Linked DNA regions of Homo sapiens: region 2 is linked to region 1. The links are contacts of gene promoters, found by promoter capture Hi-C in human tissues and cell types (Jung and others, 2019). All regions are on one chromosome and are shown on one strand. The core of a region is centred on a gene start or on the middle of the fragment in contact, and the rest is flanking DNA. Distances in the headings are between cores, read along the strand shown.

What was found. Contacts are between HindIII fragments. The study calls those that stand out against the background at their distance.
Region 2: a fragment that was not itself captured here is called in contact with the fragment with the promoter of GDF9 in region 1 in 1 of the 25 tissues and cell types used here (IMR-90 fibroblasts).

What each region holds. Positions count from the first base shown.
Region 1 is chr5:132,864,693-132,870,857 of GRCh38, reverse strand. It overlaps GDF9 (growth differentiation factor 9), which reads left to right and starts at 4,389. Exons shown (of 2, transcript NM_005260.7): 1 at 4,389-6,165. UQCRQ (ubiquinol-cytochrome c reductase complex III subunit VII) reads right to left here and starts at 4,216. Exons shown (of 3, transcript NM_014402.5): 1 at 4,171-4,216; 2 at 3,823-3,989; 3 at 2,011-3,370. The coding sequence starts at 3,976. The coding sequence ends at 3,276. RefSeq lists enhancers at 3,878-4,378, 4,379-4,879, 3,738-4,937. The HindIII fragment of the contact is 5,371 bases long and covers 2,052-6,165 here.
Region 2 is chr5:132,533,483-132,538,750 of GRCh38, reverse strand. No RefSeq gene overlaps it. Among named protein-coding and RNA genes, the nearest start is that of IL5, 7.4 kb to the left of the region's middle. The HindIII fragment of the contact is 7,519 bases long and covers 20-5,268 here.

The DNA.
Region 1 (6,165 bases), core at 3,140-5,639:
GATAAAAACGCTTGTGGGGGCAGGAGCATTTGGAAAAAGAAAGGTCAAATGGAGCAAATGGTTGTGCCAGAGTAGCAGGTAAGGGATCCATACCCAGGACTGGAGGCTCCAGATGGGTTACCAGCACTGAAGCCCACAGCAGCTGTCTTTCCTTCAAAGGTTTTACTCAGGTTCTCCTCTGAGGATTTCTGCAAATGTCCCCTAAAATGATCCCAGGTCATGTATAGGAGCACTGAACTACTAAAACTCACCACATTCCACACACCCACCACCTCAGCACTCCTGCCACACAGGTGAGATCCATTTCCCCAAGCTTAGAGAGGGAAGCCCTTTGATGAGACACAGGCTTAAAGCAGACTAATTTCATCCAAAGCAGAAGCTCCACACATCACAGGGCTTACGGCAGAGTCATCTCAGTAGAGCACTCCTGGAATAAAAAGAATAGGCTTGGTGCCTGGTTTGGGCTGAGAAAAGGGATTTGGATCTTTTGAGCTGGTCTCTCCAAAGGAGTCAAAGAACCAGGGAGAAATAGTCTAAGTGTAGAACAAGGTGAGCAAGATGGGAGAGGGTGGCCGTCTACTTCGGCGGGTTGGGGCAAACACCAGAGGGAGAAAGACATTAACGGCCTCTCAAAGCAGTGGTCCTCCTCTGGGCTGTGAACTCTTTGAAGCTATGCAAGGTAAGGATGGGTCCACAGTTTTCATCATTCTCAAGTCTATGACCCAAATATGTTGCAAGACCTGGGAATAAATCTGGACAAAGAGGCAAATGGGAAAATTGGACTGTCTTTTGGGGGTGAGGTAGAAGAGTTCCTCAGTTAGTTGCCCTGTGTTAAGCCCGTACCATCTTGCCAGACACTTGTCACTCATTTCACCATCACCACAACCCAAGAACTTTATAATATTTCTATTTTATGGGTGAGAAGCTTAAGGCTCATGAAAGTAGGTTTCTTGCCTATATCACATAATGAGGAAGTGACGGGCTAAGAGGACGAGCCCAAGACTGTAAGACTCAGCCTTTTCCCCGTATCCTGCCTCACAATGTAGTTTATCTTTTAGGTTTTGTTTTGAAGTCTCGCTCTGTCACCCAGGCTGGAGTGCAGTGGCACAATCTTGGCTCACTGCAACCTCCACCTCCCAGGTTCAAGCGTTTCTGCCTCAGCCTCCTGAGTAGCTGGGATTATAGGCGTGTGCCACCACACTCAGCTAATTTTTATATTTTTAGTAGAGACAGGGTTTCACCATGTTGGCCAGGCTGGTCTCAAACTCCTGACCTCAAGTGATCCATCCACTTCAGCCTCCCAAAGTGCTGGGATTACAGGTGTGAGCCACTGTATCCGGCCATGTTTTGAAGTATCTTAACTTTTGATTCTTAAAAGGCAATAGCAGTAATTAGGATAATAAAGATACAGTCTGGCCAGGCACGGTGGCTCACACCTGTAATCCCAGCACTTTGGGAGGTCGAGGCAGGTGGATCACGAGGTCAAGAGATCAAGACCATCCTGGCCAACATGGTGAAACTCCGTCTCTACTAAAAAAAAAAATAAAAATACAAAAATTAGCTGGGTGTGTTGGTATGCGCCTGTAGTCCCAGCTATTTGGGAGGCTGAGGCAGGAGAATCACTTGAGCCCGGGAAGCGGAGGTTGCAGTAAGCTGAGATTGCGCCACTAAACTCCAGCCTGGTGACAGAGCAAGACTCCCATCTCAAAAAAAAAAAAAAAAAAACACAGTCTGACCCAGAATCAAAGTTGCTGCTAGCAGGAAGAGTCCTTAGAAGAGTTTCTAAAAACGGATCTCAGATCCCATAGCATATACTGTACTGACTGAGCTATGACAACTCATCATATTCCACATACCTGCTACCACAGGTGAGATCCATGTCCCGAAGCTTAGAGAGAAGCCTCTCTAAGGAACTAGAGGCATAAAACTGCCAACCACACCTACCCCCACCATCTCTCGGTGGGCGAAGGGAAAATGGTATCTTTAATACCAAAAAGATAATTTAAAGGCTTTAGATCAGGGGTAAACTTTATTCATAAAGGGCCAGAGTAAATCTTTGAGGCTTTATGAACCACATATGGTTGAAAACATTGTTGGCCTCCTGGCACAGAAACAGAAAACTGCTGTGGAGGCTAAGAGATCACCTCATCCGTTTTATAGCTGATATCCCCTCAGGCTAAGGCCTGCCTTAGGAGGAAAGGCAGTAGAGCAAGCTTGTCCAACCGCAGTCCTGGGCAGCAAGCAGCCCAGGATGGCTTTGAATCCGACCCAACAAAAATTTGTAAACTTTCTAAAACGCTGAGGGTTTTTTTTGCCATTTTTTAAAGCTTATCAGCTATTGTAATGTTAGCGTATTTTATGTGTGGCCCAGGGAAGCTAAAAGATTGGACACCCCTGCAATAGAGCATAGTTTTAAGAGCATCACTTTAGTGCAAGACTCCACCATTCACTGCTGTATAATTTCTGGCAAATTACTTAATCTCTCTGTGCCCATTTCCTCATCTGCCAAATGAGGATACGTTAAAGGTGCTTGTGAGGTTTAACAGTTCATTTGTGTAGCTAAGAAGAGTATTTGAGGCCCAGAGCACCATGGCTTACGCCTGTAATCCCAGCACTTTGGGAGGCTGAGGCGCACAGATCATCTGAGGTCAGGAGTTCCAGACCAGCCTGGCCAACATGGTGAAACCTGTCTCTACTAAAAATACAAAAAATTAGCCAGGTGTGGTGTCCTGCACCTGTAATCCCAGCTACTCGGAGGCTGAGACAGGAGAATCGTTTGAACCCAGGAGGCACAGATGGCAGTGAGCCGAGATCACACCACTGCACTCCAGCCTGGGTGAGAGAGCAAGACTCCATCTCAAAAAATAAAAAATAAAAGCGTCCCTGACACATACTAATTACAATATAGTTAGTAGACTTTATTGTTGCTATGGGAGCAGAGGGCCAAGAACCAGCACTCGCCATAGCCCATGTCACCCACAAATGGTTAGATGCAGGAGTACCTGCAGCTACTTTCTTGTAGATAATGGAACAAAGGGGGAGCCCTGCTCTTTCACCAAAACCCGAGACCAGGCAAAACTTCAAGACTCATGCTGAGGAGGGGCGCTTCATGAACTTGAATATTAGTGGTCACACAGGATTCTACTCACAAAAATGTAATATCACAACAGTGCAGACCATAGGAAGTTTATTGTGTCTTTGAGACACTACAATGCAGACTCCTCTTCCAGAGAAAGGTCTTTCAGAGACAGGGAACCGTCATCCGGATGCGTTGCTCATTTGTCATTTTCATAGGCAGCTGGATTCTTCCTCTTGGATCTCTCGAACTCTTCAGTCCCCCATGTGTAGATAAGATAAAACACTACAAACTCTTTAAAAATTAAGAGAGTAAACAGAGAGCACACATATAAGACATATAGAAGAAAAAAAAAGGTCTCAGTCCTCTTGTCTTCTTTAAAGCATACACTTCAGTAGTTCTTAGCATATCCAAGGCCATGCAACTATCATCACTATCTGCTGCACGTTTAACACAAAGCATTTCACCACTGGTAAGAACTAAATAAAGGTGACCTCAGAGGAACATGCTGGAATCACCCGAGTGACCTTGGGCCAGTCATTTCAGTTCTGTAGCTCAGTTTTCCCCGTGTAAGATGGGGAGGATAATATGACCAGCTTAAGGGCGGTCAGGAATATTCAATGAGAAAGGTGTGTACGGCAAGTTACAGAGCGCCTGCCCGGCCGCCAGCGCTCAGAGGGGAGGCGCAGTGACTGCTGCTGCTGCTGGGGTCCAGCCTCCCGCTCCCGCGGGCCCAAGGCACTCACGCGGCACCACGCGAAAGAAAGACTCCCGAATGCGGCGCAGAACATTGGGGATTCCTTTAGTGAAGACGTGCGGATAGGCGCGCTGCTCGAACGGTGACAAGCTGTAGCTGATCACATGCCGCATCCGCGTCAGATTCCCAAACTCGCGGCCCATTGTGGCGGCGGCCCTGCAGGACCGAGGGTGGACAGGCGCTTGGCTCGCTTTCGCGAAGCGCCGCAGTCCCCGCGGGGGTCCATCCCCAACCCCAGACTCCTGCCCCTGCACTCCTTATCCTTTCCCAGCCCAGCGGGGCGCCCCTAGCCTCCCAGGGTCCACGAACACTGCACAACCAGACCCCACTCACGCACAGGGCTCAGCTCGCCCTCCACAGTCACCGATCCGGTTGACTCGTTCGTCATTTCCGGCAAGGTTGGAAGCCGCTCTTGGAGGTCGTGAGGTAACTTCCGGGAGATACCATTTTCCTACTGTCTCTAAGGGATGACGCCTTTGTCCCAGAAAGAAGTGGGCTGACTGGGTGACCCGTAGGTGGGAGGTGCCTTGGAGGCCCTGCCCGGGCCGGTGGGGTGGAGCCTAGCGGAGGACGTCGGGGATTGAACTGACTTTGGGGGACAGTGGACAGGCGGAGGCGCTCACACTTCTCCTCAGCCCTCGGCTTTTCTGTGGAATCCCAGTCAGGAAGCGGCCGAATGCGGGAGGCGGGGGAGGGAACAAAAAGGTGACGAGGAAGGGGCCTGCCGACCTCCGGGGCAGCGCTGGCCAGGAGCTTGGGGCCTGCGAGTCTTCCCAGCTGTAGACAGAGCGCCTCTGAGCCCCGAGGCCGGGCCGCCCCACAGCAGAGGAGCACGAGGTTTCATTTGGCCTTGGCCAGTAGCTCAAAGGGGGCTTCGTTATTTTCAGGCCATGAGCGACCCCAGCACCAAAATCAGGGACACACATCGAAGGCTTCTCTTGGACTCTGTTTTAGAGTCCCCTGGCAGGCTGTTAACGTTCCCAAGAGATAATACAAACGTTTCGTCAGTTTCAGCCACAAAAATAATCAAATAATCGTCAATTGATGAATGCTGAGGCCGCCTCGACAGCAGCCAGCGTCCTCCCCAGATGGTTTGCGTGGGGTGGGGGGAATCACGATGCCCCAGTTCTTTCTTCTCCCCACGTGAGAAGCAAGGAAAGTCGGGTGAGAGGCCTTATTATGTTTTCCCTGAAGTGCATTCTGCTTGACGATGCTGTTGTCAATGTACAGCTCGCCCTGAGGTGTCTTGTCAGTGTTTTGTTAATGGAATTGCTGGCCATATTTTATCTAGGACTAAGCTCTCATTCAACAGTTGGCTGTGTTTTATAACACTACTTACGGACCACGGAGGCTCGGCAGGCAGTCAACTTGTATTTTGCAGACATACCTTAGTTTTCTCATGTAGGTACTGCACAAACTGGCTTCGTATCTTGCACTATGAGTGTAGGCTGACTCTTCCAGCATAGTCTCCTTCGGGGTGGCGCTGAATATCCCCTCATTTCAGCTTTTCATGGTGCTCCTTTGCCTCATTTTTTTAAACCATAATGTCTAGCCTGGTCTCAGCTCCAAGGCAAGAACAGAAATACAGGTAAGGACAGAAATATTGTGGCAAATTCTACCACCATTTGGATGAATAATAATAAAACGTTCATTTATTTTATAGCATCTGCAAACATCCCAAAACCTTTCAACCAAAATATGTATAGATGAGTGTGCAGACCAAAGTAAGGACATCAGTATGTTACATTTAAAAATAAGTCAAGGTTAAAGGCGGTGTCCTCTTTTAAGAACATCGCAAATACAATTCCAGTACTCCAAGTACGTATTCTGTACCCAGCCACCTGGGAGGACTGAGAGACCTAATGGTTTTCTGCTTTCTGGAACTTCTATGCCAATTGTGACTTTCTCACCCAAATTTGTAAATTCGCAAATTAACATGCAGCGAATAATTACAATTGTAAACACCTGGAAGTGGAAAAGGCCGTGAGGATAAATTGAGAGGAAGAGTAAACCTAATACCATAAGTTGCATACCAGCAGATCTGAGTATCGTCATGAATAATTGGTTAGCTTTTCCACATGCCTTAGAAGTTTCAGCAAGCACCTAGCGAACATCTTAATCCAAATTTCTCAAAAAATGAGAGATTTTATTTAAGATCATTCCTCAATTTATCTTAGACTTTCAGCTACATAGTTAGTCCGGTAGTGTAACAGTAACGGGTTTTACGTAAATGCCAGGGGAAAAGAGAGGAAAGCTAAATAACCAAGTAAATCTGTATCTAATTAACAAATTGGCTAAATAAGGTGTTATCAGCTGCTTGATATAGAGCTGA
Region 2 (5,268 bases), core at 2,530-5,029, 330 kb after region 1:
ATGCAGTGGCGTGATCATTGCTCACTGCAGCCCTGAACTCCTGGGCTCAAGTGATTCCCCTGTTTCAGCCTCCCCAGTAGCTGGGGCTACAGGCACTTACTACCATGCCTAGTTAATATCTTTTAAAATTATTTTGTAGGGATGGGGTTTCACTATGTGACCTGGGTTGGTCTTAAACTTCTGGCCTCAAGTGATCCTCTCACTCTGGCCTCTCAAAGTGCTGGGATTACAAGTATGAGCCACCACACTGCCCTCTTTTTATTTTTATTTATTTATTTATTTATTCATTTATTATTTTTTTCGAGATGGAGTCTCACTTTGTCACCCAGCCTGGAGTGCAGTGGCATGATCTCGGCTCACTATAACCTCCACCTCCTGGGTTCCAGTGATTCTCCTGCCTCAGCCTCCCGAGTAACTGGGACTACAGGTGCATGCCACCACACCCAGCTAATTTTTATATTTTTAGTAGAGACAGTGTTTTACCATGTTGGTCAGGCTGGTCTTGAGCTCTTCACCTCAAGCAATCCACCTGCCTCAGCCTTCCAAAGTGCTGAGATTATAGGTGTGAGCCACCGTGCCCGGTCTTTTTATTTATTTATTCATTCATTTATTTATTTATTTTTTGAGACAGAGTGTCACTCTGTCACCCATGCTGGAGTGCAGTGGCATGGTCTCAGCTCACTGCAAGCTCCGCCTCCCAGGTTCATGCCATTCTCCTGCTTCAGCCTCCCTAGCAGCTGGGACTACAGGTGCCCACCACCACACCTGGCTAATTTTTTTGTATTTTTAGTAGAGATGGGGTTTCACCATGTTAGCCAGGATGGTCTCGAGCTCCTGACCTCATGATCTGCCCATCTCAGCCTCCCAAAGTGCTGGGATTACAGGCATGAGCCACCGTGCCTGGACTGTTTTTATTTTTTTAAGAGATAGAGTCTTGCTATGTTGTCCAGGCTGGACGCAAACTCTTGGGTTCAAGTGATCCTCCCATCTCACCCTCCTGAGTAATTGGAACTATAGGCAAGTGCCACCATGTCCAGCAGTTTTTTTAATCTCAATGTACCTGCCTGTGGCCAGCTGACCTACTGCTTTCATGGTCTCATATCATTGTGTACATTTACCATCAGGATCACGACATAGAGAGAGTAAAATGCACAGGCCTATAAATGTAACGAGCTGTTACAAAAGTTTCAAAGCCACAGGAAGGTTCTACCAGGTGCTTAGAATGTTTATTCCATTTATACAACAAAGAACTAGAAAAACAGTTCCAGAGTATAAAAGACTCAAGCCTAGGAGTCTCCATGTTTCACTTGTCCGATGGAAGTCCCATTCTTACCAAAGAATCATGGCAGATTTAGGTTTTCCTGGTGTCAGTATTAGCTCAGACCTCATATTTAACAATGTTTGAAAAGTTTGGGTATCTCCTATACTAGTGTGTACTTATCCTGATGAATGGCTCCAGATCGCTTTGGTAAAGGATTAAAGAAAGTTTACTGCATGTATATGTAGTGGGATTATAGAGTCCTCCTGTTCAATCAATGGACACTGGGTTTATGAATGCCTTAGATGTGGGAACTGGATGAAGAGCTTGCATTTCCACTGTGGTGGCTGATGTCAGCCCTTTACCACTTGATTACATATACATGCTAATTGATTATCAACGTTTCTTGTCTCTAGGAACACTTTAATTTCTTAGCCACCACAATAGATCCCTGAAGGTTAAGAGTCAAGGCACCCTGGTTGGCACCATGGCCTTGCTGTTTGTGGTGGTAATTATGTCCCCCTTGCCTCTAATGTTTAAGTGCTTCCAACCTGAGCTCTGCCATTCTAGGGATCTCATGTTGCCTATTGATATTAGGGAGTCCATGTCATTGGCAGCATCTTTCACCTTCAACCCAGCTTACAGGGGACATCCACCACCAATGTTTGCAATGATGCCTGCTTCTCTTCACTAGTGTATCTGTTGCTGTGTTAGTAAAAGGAGTATATTCTGTGTCCTCCAGGAACATACTCAGATAGTAGGTTCTCAGGCCAGATACAAAAAATCCATTTTAGTATTCCTGCTTCTCTGAGCTATCTGCTCTTTTCTTCAATACTATGGGAGGAAGTTCAGGTGTCTCCACTTCATATTCTGTACACCATCATCAGGATCAGGCTTCAAGGAGCCACTCCAGCAAACTATTAGGACTAACTCCAGTTGTTCTTGCGAAAACTTAATTCTGAGTCGTAAGTATACCCACACCAATAAATCCAATCCCATTCAACTCTATATTCTTCTGGACAAACAGCTGCAGGATGCACTCGATTCTGGATTCTGACAGTACATATTAGTAAACTCCTGCACACCTTACACTTCCCTGCCAAGACTGTATGTCAGCTGTGAAGCTATTGTCTCTCAGCTTCAAGCCCACTATACTATACTCTGCTGCAGCTGGGATTCTGCAAACCAATTTCTCCTTTGCCAGCTGCAACCCTGTTAGGATCTGTCAATGGAGGGTGTAGACTAGGAGGCTGGAGGAAGAAAAGGGGACTTTTTTCTTCCTGTTGCTTCCTATTCTTTGTTTTTGTTTCCTGTTCCTGTCCTCTTATATTCCTATTCCTAATCCTAATCCTAACATGAACCCTGGCAGCAGTAGTTGACTCTAGTAGCAACATTTGATTATAGTTTGCAGTTTTTCCACCATTCATAGAACCGACCTTAGCACACCTCATTTCCCTCTGAGACCCCAGCAACAGCCAATCAGCATCCCCTCAGAGGTCTGGATCCCATTCCCAAAGGACCCCTTTTCTGAGCTCAGGAACTGCACTGCATGCAGAGCAGTGTCCCCTCTACAGATGTCTGAGTTTCAGGTCCACAAAGCCCGTCCTCCAAATTTATAAGTTTTAATAATTTTCACCTGTTCCCTTTGCTTCCCAGACATAGAAGTGCTAGCTGCTTCCCACAATTGCCACCTCCTTGATACCTTATTGTTCCCTTTTTGCCTGCCTAGTTTTCCAATACCTGGCTAACAGTTCTTTATATTTAATTCTGCTTATTAAAATAACTGGTATAGTTTGTGTCTCCTGGTTGGTGCCTAGTTAACACAAGATGTTCTTAGATCTGACTTTAATTATTGGCCTTGAGGCAATAAGGGGTGTTGAGGGAGGGTTGTGGGCAGAACAAATGTCATCTTGTGAAGTATATGTTTCAAGTGAAATAGTTATTCTGTTTCCAGGCAAGGAGAAGTTAGTCTACTCTGGCAAGGGGGAAAGGTCTGCTTCTACCAGTTAAGGAGGGCTCAGAGAATTTGGAGGTTCAAGAGTTTTAGGTTTGTCCACCCAAATGTTTCTATCCCAGGTCTCATGGTCCCAGCCTTTCCTCATAAGAGCCCTGACTTTGACACAGAATGTGCAAAATCCACTCTTCTCCTTTGAAGCTCTTCAAAGGCTGCAAATAATCAGATCCTGAGCCTAATTTTCAGATCGGTTTGCCCTGCAGTTGCTGGAAATAAGAGTCTCCTCTAAAGTTGCCATGGGAGTTGTCGAGCATTCCGAGAATATGTTAAGTTAGAATTAGATTGCCATGAGCCTATCATTTTCTTTTGGTAAGGTCTTCAGTGCTGTCAGAAGAGTCATTGTACTCTGCAATCTTTATAATTACCATTGTTCTCATATAACCCTGTCATTTTATCTTTCATTGTCTTGCTGTCCACCTGCCCCTCATCTAAATTAACCAGAGCTAAAAGCTTAAGAAATTGCAAAGCCACTGCCTGCCAGAAGTTATTATCAACCTACTTATATTCAGCAATAGGTTCATATTATTTTAAAATAGTGAATAATCCAATGTCAATGTTCCATTTCCAAGTGTTTGTTACCTAAAATTACATCTGATACTAATTGTCATAGCCAGGTCTCTTCAGAAAGCAGAGCCTGAAGTCAGGCTCTGCTTGCCTTCTATGCCTGGAAATTAAGGGTGCTGTGTTGGTGTTGGTGCTGACAAAGAGACAGATAGGAGGCAGTGAGGGCAATCTGAGAAGGCACACAAATATGTATCCAATACAAACATAAATTTCCACAACTGATGCAAGAAGACATAGAAAAATCTAAACAGATCTAGAACCACTAAAGAAATTAAACCAGTCATTTAAAATCTTTCTTGAAAGAATACACCAAGTCCAGATAGTTTTCTAGGTGAGTCCTTCTAAAGTGTCAGGTCACATATAATTCCAAACATATATAAACTCTTATAGAAAATAAACAAAATGAGATATTTCCCAGCTCATTTTGTGAAGCTAATATGTAGCATACGAAAGTCAGAGGAGGAAAATATATGAAAGAAAAATTATGATCCCATACTCACTCATGAATGTGGACATAAACATTGTTATCAAAGTTTTATAAATCCAAATCCAGCATGTATAAAAAGACATTACATAACAACTAATGTAATGTCTTTCTTTCAGGAATATAAAATTAAGTGTCAGGAATATGAAATATTCCTTTATTTCAGGAATATAAAATTAAATGTCAGAAAATCTATTAATGTAATTTACCACATTAATCACTTTTTAAAGAGAAGAATCAGGCTGGGCACAGTGGCTCACGTCTGTAATCCCAGCACTTTGGGAGGCCGAGGCAGGTGGATCACCTGAGGTCAGGAGTTTGAGACCAGCCTGGACAACATGGTGAAACCCTGTCTCTACTAAAATTCCATAATTAGCTGGGCATGGTGGCGGGCACCTGTAATCCCAGCTACTCTGGAGGCTGAGGCAGAAGAATCGCTTGAACCTGGGAGGCGGAGGTTGCAGTGAGTTGAGATCGTGCCATTGCACTCCAGCCTGGGTGACAAGAGCGAAACTCAGTCTCAAAATACAAAACAAAAAAGAGAGAGAGAGAGAGAGAAGAATCACATGATGATATCAATGCAGAAAAAGCATTACTGAAATTTTACATTCATTTATTATAATTACTTTTTAACAAAGTCAAAATAGAAAGGAACTTTTTTAACCTGATAAACTTACAGAAAATACTGTGCTCAATGGTAATATGTTCAAATCATCTCTTTAAAAAAAGAATAATGCAAGAATACCTGCAGGACCACTCTGTGCACTGCACAATCCCAGGAAGCACCATTTACATCAGAGACATTATATATTTGAGTATGTATGACAATTTCATACCAGATAGAAGTATCTTTTTCCAATTTGCACAGAGGCTTTATATGATGTACTAGTGTCCCTGGAGACTAACTTTGTTTCCATTAAAAACTGACCAAAGGTCCCAGCCTTTGCA